Linked DNA regions of Homo sapiens: regions 1 and 3 are each linked to region 2. Evidence: promoter capture Hi-C in human tissues and cell types (Jung and others, 2019). All regions are on one chromosome and are shown on one strand. Each heading gives the region's core, a stretch centred on a gene start or on the middle of the fragment in contact. The rest is flanking DNA. Distances are from core to core; before and after follow the strand shown.

Region 1 (3,822 bases), core at 613-3,112, 130 kb after region 2:
AGCTGCTCCTTTGGCTTTATCCTTCCCGTGCTTATCTGTGAAATGGGGACATGATTAGTACCTATCTTGTAGGGTCATTGTGGGGATGACATGAGATAGATTTATGTGAAGCCCTTGGACTCATGCATGGCACCAAATAAGCACTCGATAACATTAACTGTTGTTGTCGTTATTAATAGATGAGTAAACTGGGGTCTAGAGAGGTGAAATGTCCTGCCCAAGGTCACCCAGCTGGCCCACAGCAGACTTGGGACTGGAATCCACATCCACTATGCTTAGCTGGAAGCAGCTATTTCACCAGCATCCTTGGTCTAGTTGCAGCCAAGAGCTCAGGTTCATGTGCCCCTAATACAGCATGGCATGTGAAACAGTTTTGGTTTGTTATGGCTACACAAGCATGCTCAAGGCCTTTGCCTTTGTGTTTGATGCCCTGTTTTAGTTAAAAATTTAATGAAACTTTCTCTCTTTCTCACTCTCTCTTTCTCTCTGTGTATATGTGTGTGTGTGATGTGACCCTTCCTACATAATTCAGTGTTCTCCTTTTACATTAGTGTATTAGCACGTTGTCACTTTTAACCTTTTACCCACTGAGCTTGGCATTTAAAATGCTATTAAACTCAATAATGTTTCCTATAAACAGCCTTAGAGGGATGAGAAATAATTGGAATGACATTTTTAATAGGCTCCTGGTTCTCAGCCCTGTGTGCTACAGGAACTCAGCTGGTGCTTGCGGAGAGGGACTTGTTAGTGGTTTCATCCCTAGTCTGAGGTCGGGAGAGGGTCATGGAGTGAAGACTTGGGGTGCTAAAGGACCTTTTAAGGCACAGAAGAAGGCTGAAGAAGTAAGTCTGCTCTTGACTAGTGCTTTTTGCTTTTTTAATGGATGGATGTGGTCAATCTAGAAGCTGATCACTCCTTCAGGTGGCTGCAGAAAAGCTTGGAGCCAAATTTCTGGCCACCTTTAGCCAATGAGTAGGACTTCCTGGAATGCATTTTTGTGGATCAGCCTCATTCCTTGCTTCTTTTCTTTGCCTAAAATGCATATTTTTTGTGTTCTTTCCTGCTTCCATTTTACATTACCATTCTATTCTATGTGCAGTATTGTGTGCCTCCTAAGTTTGTTTTTGGGACAAGGTTTTTAAAAAATCAAGTTGAATGTTGCCTTTTCTGCTTGTATAGTTGTGAGGTCTCGGGAGGCTACTTTATCTCTCTGTGCCCCAAATTTGGCTTTTTCATCTATAAACCAGGGAAACTGACACCATCTTGTTGAGATATGGTAATGTGGGAGCAAGCATGGCTGTTTACAGAGAAAGTTGCACTTTTTAGAATGGTTTCTGCTGCTACTACCAGGGGGGCTAGGGATGGAAAAATACTGGGATCTAGTATTTTTGTCATGATTATGGCCGTAGATCCTGTTCTCTCAGAATCATGTTCAGAAAACATGTTAAGCATTCATCTGTAGTCACTAAATATTATAGCTGCTTACAGTATGAGTTTGTCAAATAGGAATTTATGAGAAACCTACTATTCACCCAGCTCTGGGACAGACCGAGAGAGAGAAGACATACAGAGAAGAATAATCGTGGACAGATGACAGGATGAGGGTCAGATAGCTGAGCACAGCACCGACTCTCTCCTGCTTAGTCACTGTGTTCATTTAAGCATTTGCTGAGTGCCGCTCTGTTCTGGGGCAGTTTGAAGCCATCCATGGATGTGCACCTCAAACAAGGCAAGTCAGATCATCAAGGCAGGTCAGATCCCCACGCTCCTACAGCTTATGTTTCCCCAAGGAAGAGACAGTTTAAAAATAAAGATAAATGCTTTAGAGCTGTACACTTAAAATGGGTGATTTTTTTTTTTTGTTGTGTAAATTATACCTGAATACAGTTGTTAAAAAAGAAAAAAAATCTTGGCCCTCATGGTGCTGACGTTCAGGTTTTCCCTGATACGTTTGATCCTTATTATTTGTGGATTTTGTTTTTGCAAATTCGCTTACTTGCTGAGATTTATTTGTAACCCCCAAATCAGCTTCTTTGGTCATTCACAGAGATGTGCAGAGCTGCAAACACTTTTGGGTTGCCCAACACTCACATTCCCAGTTGAGGCCAAACAAGGCGACACTCTGCCTCCAGTTCCGGCTCTCATCCTGTAGACAGATGTCCTTTTCGTAGTCTCTTTAGTGCCACATTTTTTGCATTTTTCTGCTGCTTTTTGGTGATTTCACTATTTAAAAATGGCCCCCAACTGTCATGCAGAAGTGCTGTCTAGCATCCTAAGCGTAGGATGACTATGATGTGCCTCATGGAGATAGCATATGTGGTTAGACAAGCTTTATTCTGGCATGAGTTATGGCGCTGTTGGCCATGAATTCAATGTTAATGAATCAACAATATATGTTAAATTAGGTGTCTTTAAACAGAAACACACATAAAACAAGGTTATGAATTGATCTGTTGACAAAAATGGGACCAGAGGCTTGCAGGAACCTAACCCTGTATTTCTCCCAGGAACAAGGTTTCAGTGTTCACTAATTCAGTGTTTGCAGTGACTTGAGAGAACATAATTCATGTGAATGATGACAGTTAACTGTATATGTTGGGTGAGGGCAAGAATATATGTAGAGCCCACATACCAGATGTCTATCTTCCTTTAAAAAAAATGCAAAAGTTCTCAGACTTGGCAGCGCATTGGAATGCTCTGGGGAGTTTGACAAAATGCCCATGCCCCAAAGAGTCTGGTTTAATTGGCTGGGGTGTGGCTCAGGCACAGAGATTTTAGAAGCTCCCCCAGGGATTCTAATGTGCAGCCGGAGTTGAACACCAGTGCTCTTCCCATTGAATGATAATGTGTCCTAGAAGTGGACCCTGGCCAACTGAAGGAGGCTCTGTGGGGGCCAGCAGCACCTCCTCATACCCGCCCAAGACCCAGAGCCCAGGGCAGGGTGTCCGGTTGGCCCAGCTCCTGCCCTGAGGAGAGGGTCTATCCCCTCCATCCTCCCATCCCCCGTAGTGACCCCACACACATCCTATGCCCACACACAGCTGGAGAGAGGCTTCCCTCAGGAAACCCTGGTGCCATTAAGAGAGGAGAATGGATGGCAGACAACCCAAGCCCCACAGAGGTCTCCACCCTGTGCTCTAAAAGACATGTGCATTTCTTGAATGAAATCAAGTGGGAGATATGTGCCTAGGCAGGGTAGAGTGTTTGGTTTATGCCTGCCTGCTTTCTCCTGGCTCCTCCTTTCTCTCATTTCTTCCAACTCCTCTGATCTTCCTTCACAGGGATTTCAGGCTGAGAAGATGAGGTTTATTTTCAGAGGAGTCATGTCAGACAATATGAAGTGTTAGGTGGTTGGGCCAGGAATGACCTATATGAGTGGAGTTCAGAGAGGGAGAGCCAACATGGCTAGCGTGGGCAGGAGGGGCTCTGTGGCAGAGCTGGATTCAGGTGGCTTAGTGCCTGGAAAGGTCTCACAGAGAAGGCCGTTGATGGTAGAGGACAGCCTGGATGATGGCACTGGGGGCAGCTCCCACGACAGAGGGGGAATAAGTACAGCTGAGTGAAGCTGACTTGGCTTTTGATTTTTCATCTTAAGCAATGAGCCGTTACTGAGCACTTACTGTGTGCATCTGGGCTCCTTACGTAAGAGGGGCTGCGAGGATAAATGGGAACGGGACGGCACAGTCCCTGCCTGTGGGACTGTGAGGAGTCTGATGAGAACTGTGGAGGAGGTGAGAGCCTGATGAGAACTATGAACAAGGGTATGGAAATGATAAATACAGCAGAGCATGACACAGAGTGCATCCGGCAAGCAGAGATCAT
Region 2 (4,325 bases), core at 1,415-3,914:
TTCTTTAGGCAAGGCAGCAGGAAGCAATGGTAAGTGCTAAGACATGGCCTTGGTCCTCCAGGAACTATAGTACAACACAGCTGTAGGAGGCAGATGTGTGAATGAGCCCTAAGAGGAGAGGTGTGGGTACCATAACAAGGAGTGGCACCCAGCAAGGACTGGGAGCCTAAGGATGCCCAGATCAAACAGGGTCCCAGCTGGGACCTTGGAGAGATGTTGTGCCAAACCCCTATTAACCTCAATAAGGAAGGCAACAGGTTCAAGAGGCCAAAAGAGACCCATTAGGGGCTTACAAACAGAGGAGGGAGTCCAGTGGTGGTGAGCTGGGCAGGAAAACAACCGCTTGCAAACATCATGCAATTTATGCAGCATTTTCACTTAACACCCTCCCCTCAATGACCTCTACCTGGCAACTTGATTTAACTCAAAATTCAAGGCCTCAATTCCCCGTATGGCCCCTGTTCTATGGGACAGGTGGGGCAGGGGCTCAGATGTTCTTCATAGACAAGAAATAAATCTCTGGGTTGGGCAGGCCTGGGTTCCCTAGTTCAGAAAACACATTCAGGTTCATCTGCCACACAGGGTCATTCTAAGGGTATGCTTTAATTATTGCTGTCAGGTGCATTTACCCTACAGGGGAGCATGAATAAGTCAAGTGAAGAGGGTGCAGGGAAGGGTGTTCCTGGCAGAAGGGAGCGCATGTGCAAGGCCCTAATGGCACAAGAAAGCATGTTCTCAAAATGAAAAGTGCAAGGGGCTTGTGAAAAGAGAGGGTGCTGGTGAGAAAGACAGGGCTGTACACCCACATAAGCCCCGTAAAGGGAGTCTGGTTCCGTCCTAAGGGCAATGAAGGATCACTGAAGGGAGCCTCACAATCAGATTTAAATTCCAGCAAGCACTTCCCAGTTGCAGTAGTGAAGATGGGTTGTGAAGTGAGGCAGGGAGATAAATCGGGAAGCTGTTGCAGTAAAGTAAGCAAGAGCTTAGTTGATAACGGTAGGCTTATCTAGAGAAATGGCAATGAGAATGGAGAGAAGGTGGACAGATTTCAGAAGTTCAGGAGGTAGAATCAGAATTGAATTTGAGGCGGGAAGGGAAAGTCAGGGGTGAATCAGAGATGACTCACCCCTAGGTATCTGGCTTAGACCATTAGGAGAAGTAGGGAGTCGGGGAGCCTCATGCTATTCCCTGAGACAGAGAACATGGGAACAGCAGCAGGTGTGTGGCGGTGGGAAGAGGGAGGTGGCTAGGAATGATGGGACCTGTTTAGAATGTATTCAGTCTGAGACGCCCAACACACAGTCCGGAAAACACCCTTACATACAGATCTGAAGCTTATGAGAGTTCTTTCATTATCAGGTGTAACTTCTAGACCTAATTTTCTCCTAAAGCTAAGTAGCTGTTGTGAAAGATTAATTCCACTCCATCCTGAGCCCCCCAGCTCTTCCTGCGATCTTCTCTTGAGGACCCATACCCTTTTACTTGGTTGGGATTCTCTCAACTCTCAGCCAGCCAAGCTCCTTGAGGGCAAACCAAGGTTCAGTTTATCTTTGTCCTCCTCACAGCACCAAGAACCCTGCCATGCACAAGGCAGGTACTTAAAATACTTGTTAAATGAATAAATGAGTGAGTGAACCAAAGGAACAGCTTCTGCCTGAAGACATTCTGTAACTGACCTACCCAATACAGCTTTATTGCCAGGAAACAGGTAGCCCCTTAATCTCCTTAGCGAACTGACTGTTGTTCTAAAGAGGCAAAATAAATCTACTCCCAATGCTTGCAAGAAGATTCTGTTCTCACAGAGAATATTCAGACAAAAGAATCACCTATTCCATGACGGAGCCATGTGGCCAGGCCAGAAGCACACATTAAAGCCAGAGGCTGTGTTAACATGGAAGGGATAAGGTGGGAGAGGATGTGCACAGCACATCACACGCTCTCATCACAAATGTGATGCTCAAGCCTTGGAAGGACTAAAACGCATCTTGGATGCAATGCAGCAAAACGATTTACCATACCAGGTACAAAACAAGGTGACAGGGGACAGCCTCGCTGCCCGCCCCAAATCCTCCAAAATTCGGAGAATTAAGAGATTTTCGGTGAACTGTTACATAAAAAGCATTTTCACATGCTAAAGATATAACAATTACCTACCCTTGAGCTCTTGGAGGGCACAAAAGGCACATTTTCGAGTGGGGTCTGGGTGGTGCTGAGAAGGTTAAAATCCTGCCAAGCATTTTGCAATGGTCCATGAGCCCACCCCACCACCCCAGATCCAGGAAGGTAGGAGGCAGGATAGGTGGGATATTTAGGGATACCAGAAGGCAGAAACTCGGGAGGAGGAGAAAAATGATACCGCGGAGGTAAGACCGATGCCCTGCAAAATCCCCTCAAGGTCCTCTGCATCATCGTTTGCTGTACAGGTTTGGCGCGGGGGAGGGGATGCCCGCTAAGCAACGCCCCTTATATTTCTGCAGTTTTGTAAGAAAATTCAGAGCAGGAAGGTCTCCATTGCGGGATGCACAGCTCACCTGCAGCCCCGAGCCTTCACTGCAGCTGAAAAGACAGAAGTCTGGGGCCAGCTGCCGCCAAGCGCGGTACCTGGAGTCCGGAAGCAGTCTCCGCACCAGCGCTGTCCCACTCGGCGCCCAGCCGTCTCGCGCTGAGCAAAGGCCGCTCCCTCCTGGAAACGCCCTCCCTGCCGCGCGCATGCGCTGTGTCCCTTCTCGCCTTGCAGGACTCCACCCGGTCCATGCCCTCCGGCTGAATCCGGGCGGCCTGTAGGCCAGGCAGCCAGGAGGCCCTGTGCTGCAACATCCCGGCGGCAGCCGGACCCGTTGCTCCGTCTATCCTGCCTTCGGCCCTGTCCTGGAGCCAGGGCTGGGGTTTGCTGCCTCCCGCCTGACGGAGCAGGACTGGCAGGAAGCGTGTTTGCAAGAAGCCAAAATTACAGAAGGCGAAGATTTTTAAATTAACTCCATTCATCTTTCAAGGGACATTTCCAGAACCTCCAAAAGGCAACCCGAGGTCTTCTACACACCCTCCAGCAGACTGTCCCCACTGTCAGTGGAGGGAGCTAAGGTTCAGTGAGGTCAAGTGACTTAGTTGTCCCAGGTCAAAATCCAAGTTTGCCTGGTGTCAAAGCCCAAGCACCCTTCATTACACTATGGGATCATCTAGATGTGGTTGGGAGACGAGGATCCTAGTTTTAAACTTCAGGCCCAGGATTTGCTGGGTTTAGATATCTACTGGGAAAGGTATAGAATTCCAGAGTTGGAAAGCACTTAAAACCTTGCCTAATGCAAGGCAATCCGCTCAATCCCAGGAACGAAACTTAAACTGACCTTATTTTTTTTTTAAATACAGGATCTCAGTCGGTCGCCCAGGCTGGAGTGCAGTGGCACCATCCCGTCTCACTGCAACCTCTGCCTCCTGCCTCCTGGGTTCAAGCGATTCTCCAGCCTCAACCTCCCAAGTAGCTGGGATTACAGGTGTGTGCCACCTCACCCGACTATTTTTTTTTTGTAGAGACGGGGTTTCACTGTGTTGCCCAGGATGGTCTTGAATTCCTGAGCTCAAAGCAATCCTCCCGCCTCTGCCTCCCAAAGTGCTGGGATTACAGTTTAAATTGACTTTAAATTATGCCTCCCTGTAGCAACTTATCATCTCAATCTTCTGCCTTCTTGATTGAATACAGAACTCCGACCCTCTTCCTTATGTAACAGCCCTTTGGAGATTTGAAGAAGGTTGTCATAGTGAAGTAGCTCTAGAGGTTCTGTGTCACTGAGAATTACAGCGGAATTCCTCAGAATAAAAAAGGAAACTCAAAAATTAAATCTTGTGAAGTTTGTTTGCTACATCTATTCTTTGTGCATAAAAGTGCTTCAGGGAAGTAATATAACTACATCTAACTTATGAAAGTCTAAGTTGGTCCTGGGGAATTAATAAAATTCCTGAAGATTCACAGAAGAGTTGATGGCAAGGCACTGGAATGTGGCGTGGAGAAAGTGATAGCCTGAAATTTGGTTCTGAGTTCTCTCAGCCCTCCTTTCCATCCCCTTCTATGCCCATCCTTACCCCAGCCTCCTCACCTTCTCTCCTCACACTCTCAGAACACTTACCCTATTTGGAATAAAACTAAAATCCTCTTGGAATACTTCATTATCTTCATCTGATGTGACCTGGGTAAATAACTCCCCTCTGGACCTCAGTGCCTGGATTTAAGATATGGACAAGACTAGATGCTCTGAGATCCCTTACACCCTATCACCAACATACTCGAAGCTGGAAACAGCCTCATGATATTCCTACTCAAGGCGTATCAC
Region 3 (4,290 bases), core at 1,418-3,917, 230 kb after region 2:
ATCTACAAAGAACTTAAACAAATTTACAAGAAAAAATAAAACAACCCCATCAAAAAGTGGGCGAAGGATATGAACAGACACTTCTCAAAAGAAGACATTTATGCAGCCAACAGATACGTGAAAAAATGCTCATCATCACTGGCCATCAGAGAAATGCAAATCAAAACCACACATCTCATGCCAGTTAGCATGGAGATCATTAAAAAGTCAGGAAACAACAGGTGCTGGAGAGGATGTGGAGAAATAGGAATGCTTTTACACTGTTGGTGGGAATGTAAACTAATTCAACCATTGTGGAAGACAGTGTGGTGATTCCTCAAGGATCCAGAACAAGAAATACCATATGACCCAGCCATCCCATTACTGGGCATATACCCAAAGGATTATAAATCATGCTGCTATAAAGTCACATGCACACATATGTTTATTGCGGCACTATTCACAATAGCAAAGACTTGGAACCAACCCAAATGTCCAACAATGATAGACTGGATTAAGAAAATGTGGCACATATACACCATGGAATACTATGCAGCCATAAAAAATGATGAGCTCATGTCCTTTGTAGGGACATGGATGAAGCTGGAAACCATCATTCTGAGCAAACTATCGCAAGGACAGAAAACCAAACACTGCATATTCTCACTCATAGGTGGGAATTGAACAATGAGAACACTTGGACACAGGGTGGGGAACATCACATACTGGGGCCTGTCATAGGGTGGGGGGTGTGGGGAGGGATACCACTAGGAGATATACCTAATTGAATGACAAATTAATGGGTACAGCACACCAACATGGCACATGTATACATATGCAACAAACCTGCACGTTGTGCGCATGTACCCCATAACTTAAAGTATAATAATAAAATAAATAAATAAATAAACTAGGTATTAAAGGAACACACCTCAAAATAATCAGAGCCATCTATGAAAAACCCACAGCCAACATTATATTGAACAGGGAAAAGCTGGAAGCATTCCTCTTGAAAACTGACACAAGAAAAGGATGCCCTCTTCCACAACTTCTATCCAAGACAATATTGGAAGTCTTGGCCAGAACAATCAGTCAAGAGAAAGAAATGAAGGACATCCAAGTAGGAAGAGAGAAAGTCAAACTATCCCTGTTTGGAGAAAACATGATTCTATATCTAGAAAACTCCAGAGCCTCATCCCAAAAACTCCTTAAGTTAATAAACAACTTCGGCAAAATTTTAGGACACAAAATCAACATACAAAAATCACTAGCACTCCTATACACCAACAACAGCCAAGCTGAGAGTAAAATCAGGAACACAATCCCATTTACAACTGTCACAAAAAGAATAAGATACCTAGGAATACAGCTAACCAGGGAGATGAAAGATCTCTACAATGAGAATTACAAAACACTGCTTAAGGAAATCAGAGATAACACAAGCAAATGAAAAAACATTACATGCTCATGGATACGAAAAATCAATATCTTTACAGTCACCATACTGCCCAAAGCAATGTACAGATTCAATGCTATTCCTATCAAATTGCCAGTGACACTCTTCACAGAACTAGAAAAAAATACTTTAAAATTCAATGGTACCCAAAAAGAGCCTGAATAGTCAAGGCAATTCTAAGCAAAAGAACAAAGCTGGAGGCATCATGTTACCTGCCTTCAAACTATACTACAGGGCTACAGTAACCAAAACAGTACAGTACTGGTACAAAAACAGACACATAGACCAATGGAATAGAATAGGGAGCTCAGAAATAAGGCTACACACCTATAATTATGTGATCTTCAACAAAGTTGACAAAAATAAGCAATGGGGAAAGGTGCTGGGATAACCTGCTAGCCATATGCTAGCCATATATCTTACACCAGATATAAAAATCAACTCAAGATAGATAAAAGACTTAAATGTAAAACCCAAAACTATAAACACCCTGGAAGACAACCAAGGCAACACTATTCTAAACATAGGAATGGGCAAAGATTTCATGACAAAGACACCAAAAGCAATCACAACAAAAGCAAAAATTGACAAATGGTATCTAATTAAACGTAAGAGCTTCCGCAGAGCAAAAGAAAGCATCAACAGAGTAAAAAGACTATCTAAAGAATGGGAAAGAAATATTTGCAAACTATGCATCTGACAAAGGTCCAATATGCACCATCTATAAGAAACTTTAATTTACAAGAAAAAAAGCAAAGAACCCCATTAAAAAGTGGGCAAAGGACATGAACAGACACTTCTCAAAAGAAGACATACACATGGCCAATAACCATATGAAAAAAAAGCTCAACATCACTATCATTAGAGAAATGCAAATCAAAACCACAATGAAATATCATCTCACACCAGTCAGAATGGCTATTATTAAAAAGTAAAAAAATAACAGGTGCTGTCAAGGTTGTGGAGAAAAAGAAATGTTTATACACTGGTGATGAGAGTATAAATTAGTTCAACCATTGTAGAAAGCAGTGTAGTGATTCCTAAAAGACCTGAAAACAGAACTACCATTTGACCTAGGAATCTCATTATTGGGTATATACCCAAAGGAATATAAATCATTCTGCCATAAAGACATACCCGCAAGTATGTTCATCGCAGCACTATTCATAATAGCAAAGACATGGAATCAACCTGAATGCCCATCAATGGTAAACTGGAAAAAGAAAATGTGATACATATACACATACATATACATATACATGAAGGTGCCAGATTTTTTGCATTTTTGTGTTTTTTGTTGGTGATTTTGCTGTTTAAAGGGTCCCAGTGCCTAGTGATGAAGTGCTATTTAGTGTTCCTAAGCACAAGAAGGCTGTAACACACCTCATGGAGAAAATGCATGTCTTAGATAAGCTTTGTTCAGACGTGAGTTATAGTGCTGTTGGGTGTGAGTTTAATGTTAATGAATCAACCGTATATATTAAATAAGGTGTCTTTAAACAGAAACATACATGAATCAAACTTATGTATTGATCAGTTGACAAAAATGTGGCCAGAGATTAGTGGGAACCTAACCCTGTATTTCCTCTAAGACTAGTGGTTCAGTATTCACTAATTCAGTGTTTGTGGTGACTTTATAGTCCTAATTACTGTCAATAATGAGAACCGACTATAAATAGATTAGGTCAAACGCTCAGTGATTAACTTGCAAATGTTCAAATTGCCCATAAAAACACAACTGTAAAAATAATTGTTATGAAAACACAACTGTAAAAATAATTGTTAATACATTTATGTTTAGATAACATTTTATCATTTCTCACTGTTGGTACAATTGTGAAACTGCCTATGATATATAAGACCTCAGACACCTAAAAAGCAAAGAGATAAAAATATGTTGGAACGGGAGAATATCTCAAAGATGGTCTAGCACCTCTACTTTTGAAGCTATTTTTCTCTATTGCTTTGGAATGGCACTGATGCCATGGCTCCTTTCTTTACTTCCTTCAGGCCTCTATTCATATGTCATCTTATCACTGAGGCATTCTCTGATCCGCCTCTATAAAGAGCCCCTCAACTTCCATTCCCTTTACTCAGCTTTATTTTCCTCCATTGCTGTTATCATCATCTGACATATAACCAATCTATTTATTTGCTATTGCTTATCTCCTCCAACAAGATTGGAACCTCTATAGGGGCAAGTACCTATAACATGCAAGGAAAGGAGAAATGGTGCACTATTAGCTTGTCATAGTCATCTGAAAAATATCAAGTACCTTCCTGAAAACATCTGGCACCTAGAACAGTGCATGGAACAAAGCAGGCATGCAAATAAATATCTGTTAAACAAACTACTAAATGAAAACAATAATGGATTCATAGGAGCTCAGTGCATGGTAAAAATTAGTCACATATGGCACTAGGTATCCTGGAATAGGGACATAAAATACTTCAGAAACTATATCTTTGCTGCTAGAAATATTTTTTTAACTAAGACAAATTTGGAATTGACTTCCTAATTCCTACACTTTGTAGTAAAGAAAGGCCACCTATATCCTCTATGCATGTAACTTTAATAAAAGTTTCCTTTGTATTAAAAAATCCAAACTTACGAAATAGAGGACTTTTTACATATAGAAGAGGTTTTTTCATTTAAAAATGGTTTCATTTCAGAAATTCTTTAGATGGTAAGCTTTCCTAGAATATAGCAAGTATCATTTACCAAAAATATATGAGCTACACAAAAAATTTTAGGCTCATATCTGCTAATAGAAGTAGTGCTATTTTTGTAAACTCACACTTAAGATAAAACGTTTAATCCCTCTTCCATACTTACATCCCAGCAGGGATGCTAT

What was found. Contacts are between HindIII fragments. The study calls those that stand out against the background at their distance.
Region 1: a contact is called between a fragment that was not itself captured here and the fragment with the promoter of TMEM14A in region 2, in 3 of the 25 tissues and cell types used here (H1 embryonic stem cells, IMR-90 fibroblasts and mesenchymal stem cells).
Region 3: a contact is called between a fragment that was not itself captured here and the fragment with the promoter of TMEM14A in region 2, in 3 of the 25 tissues and cell types used here (dorsolateral prefrontal cortex, hippocampus and lymphoblastoid cells).

Annotation. Positions count from the first base shown.
Region 1 is chr6:52,537,580-52,541,401 of GRCh38, reverse strand. The region is part of intron 1 of TRAM2 (translocation associated membrane protein 2); the gene reads left to right. Among named protein-coding and RNA genes, the nearest start is that of TRAM2, 38 kb to the left of the region's middle. RefSeq lists an enhancer at 3,803-3,822. The HindIII fragment of the contact is 4,285 bases long and covers 1-3,822 here.
Region 2 is chr6:52,669,452-52,673,776 of GRCh38, reverse strand. It overlaps TMEM14A (transmembrane protein 14A), which reads right to left and starts at 2,664. Exons shown (of 5, transcript NM_014051.4): 1 at 2,532-2,664. RefSeq lists enhancers at 2,800-2,959, 2,948-3,448. The HindIII fragment of the contact is 4,412 bases long and covers 596-4,325 here.
Region 3 is chr6:52,438,886-52,443,175 of GRCh38, reverse strand. All of the region lies in intron 3 of EFHC1 (EF-hand domain containing 1), which reads right to left. Among named protein-coding and RNA genes, the nearest start is that of EFHC1, 21 kb to the right of the region's middle. The HindIII fragment of the contact is 6,132 bases long and covers 1-4,290 here.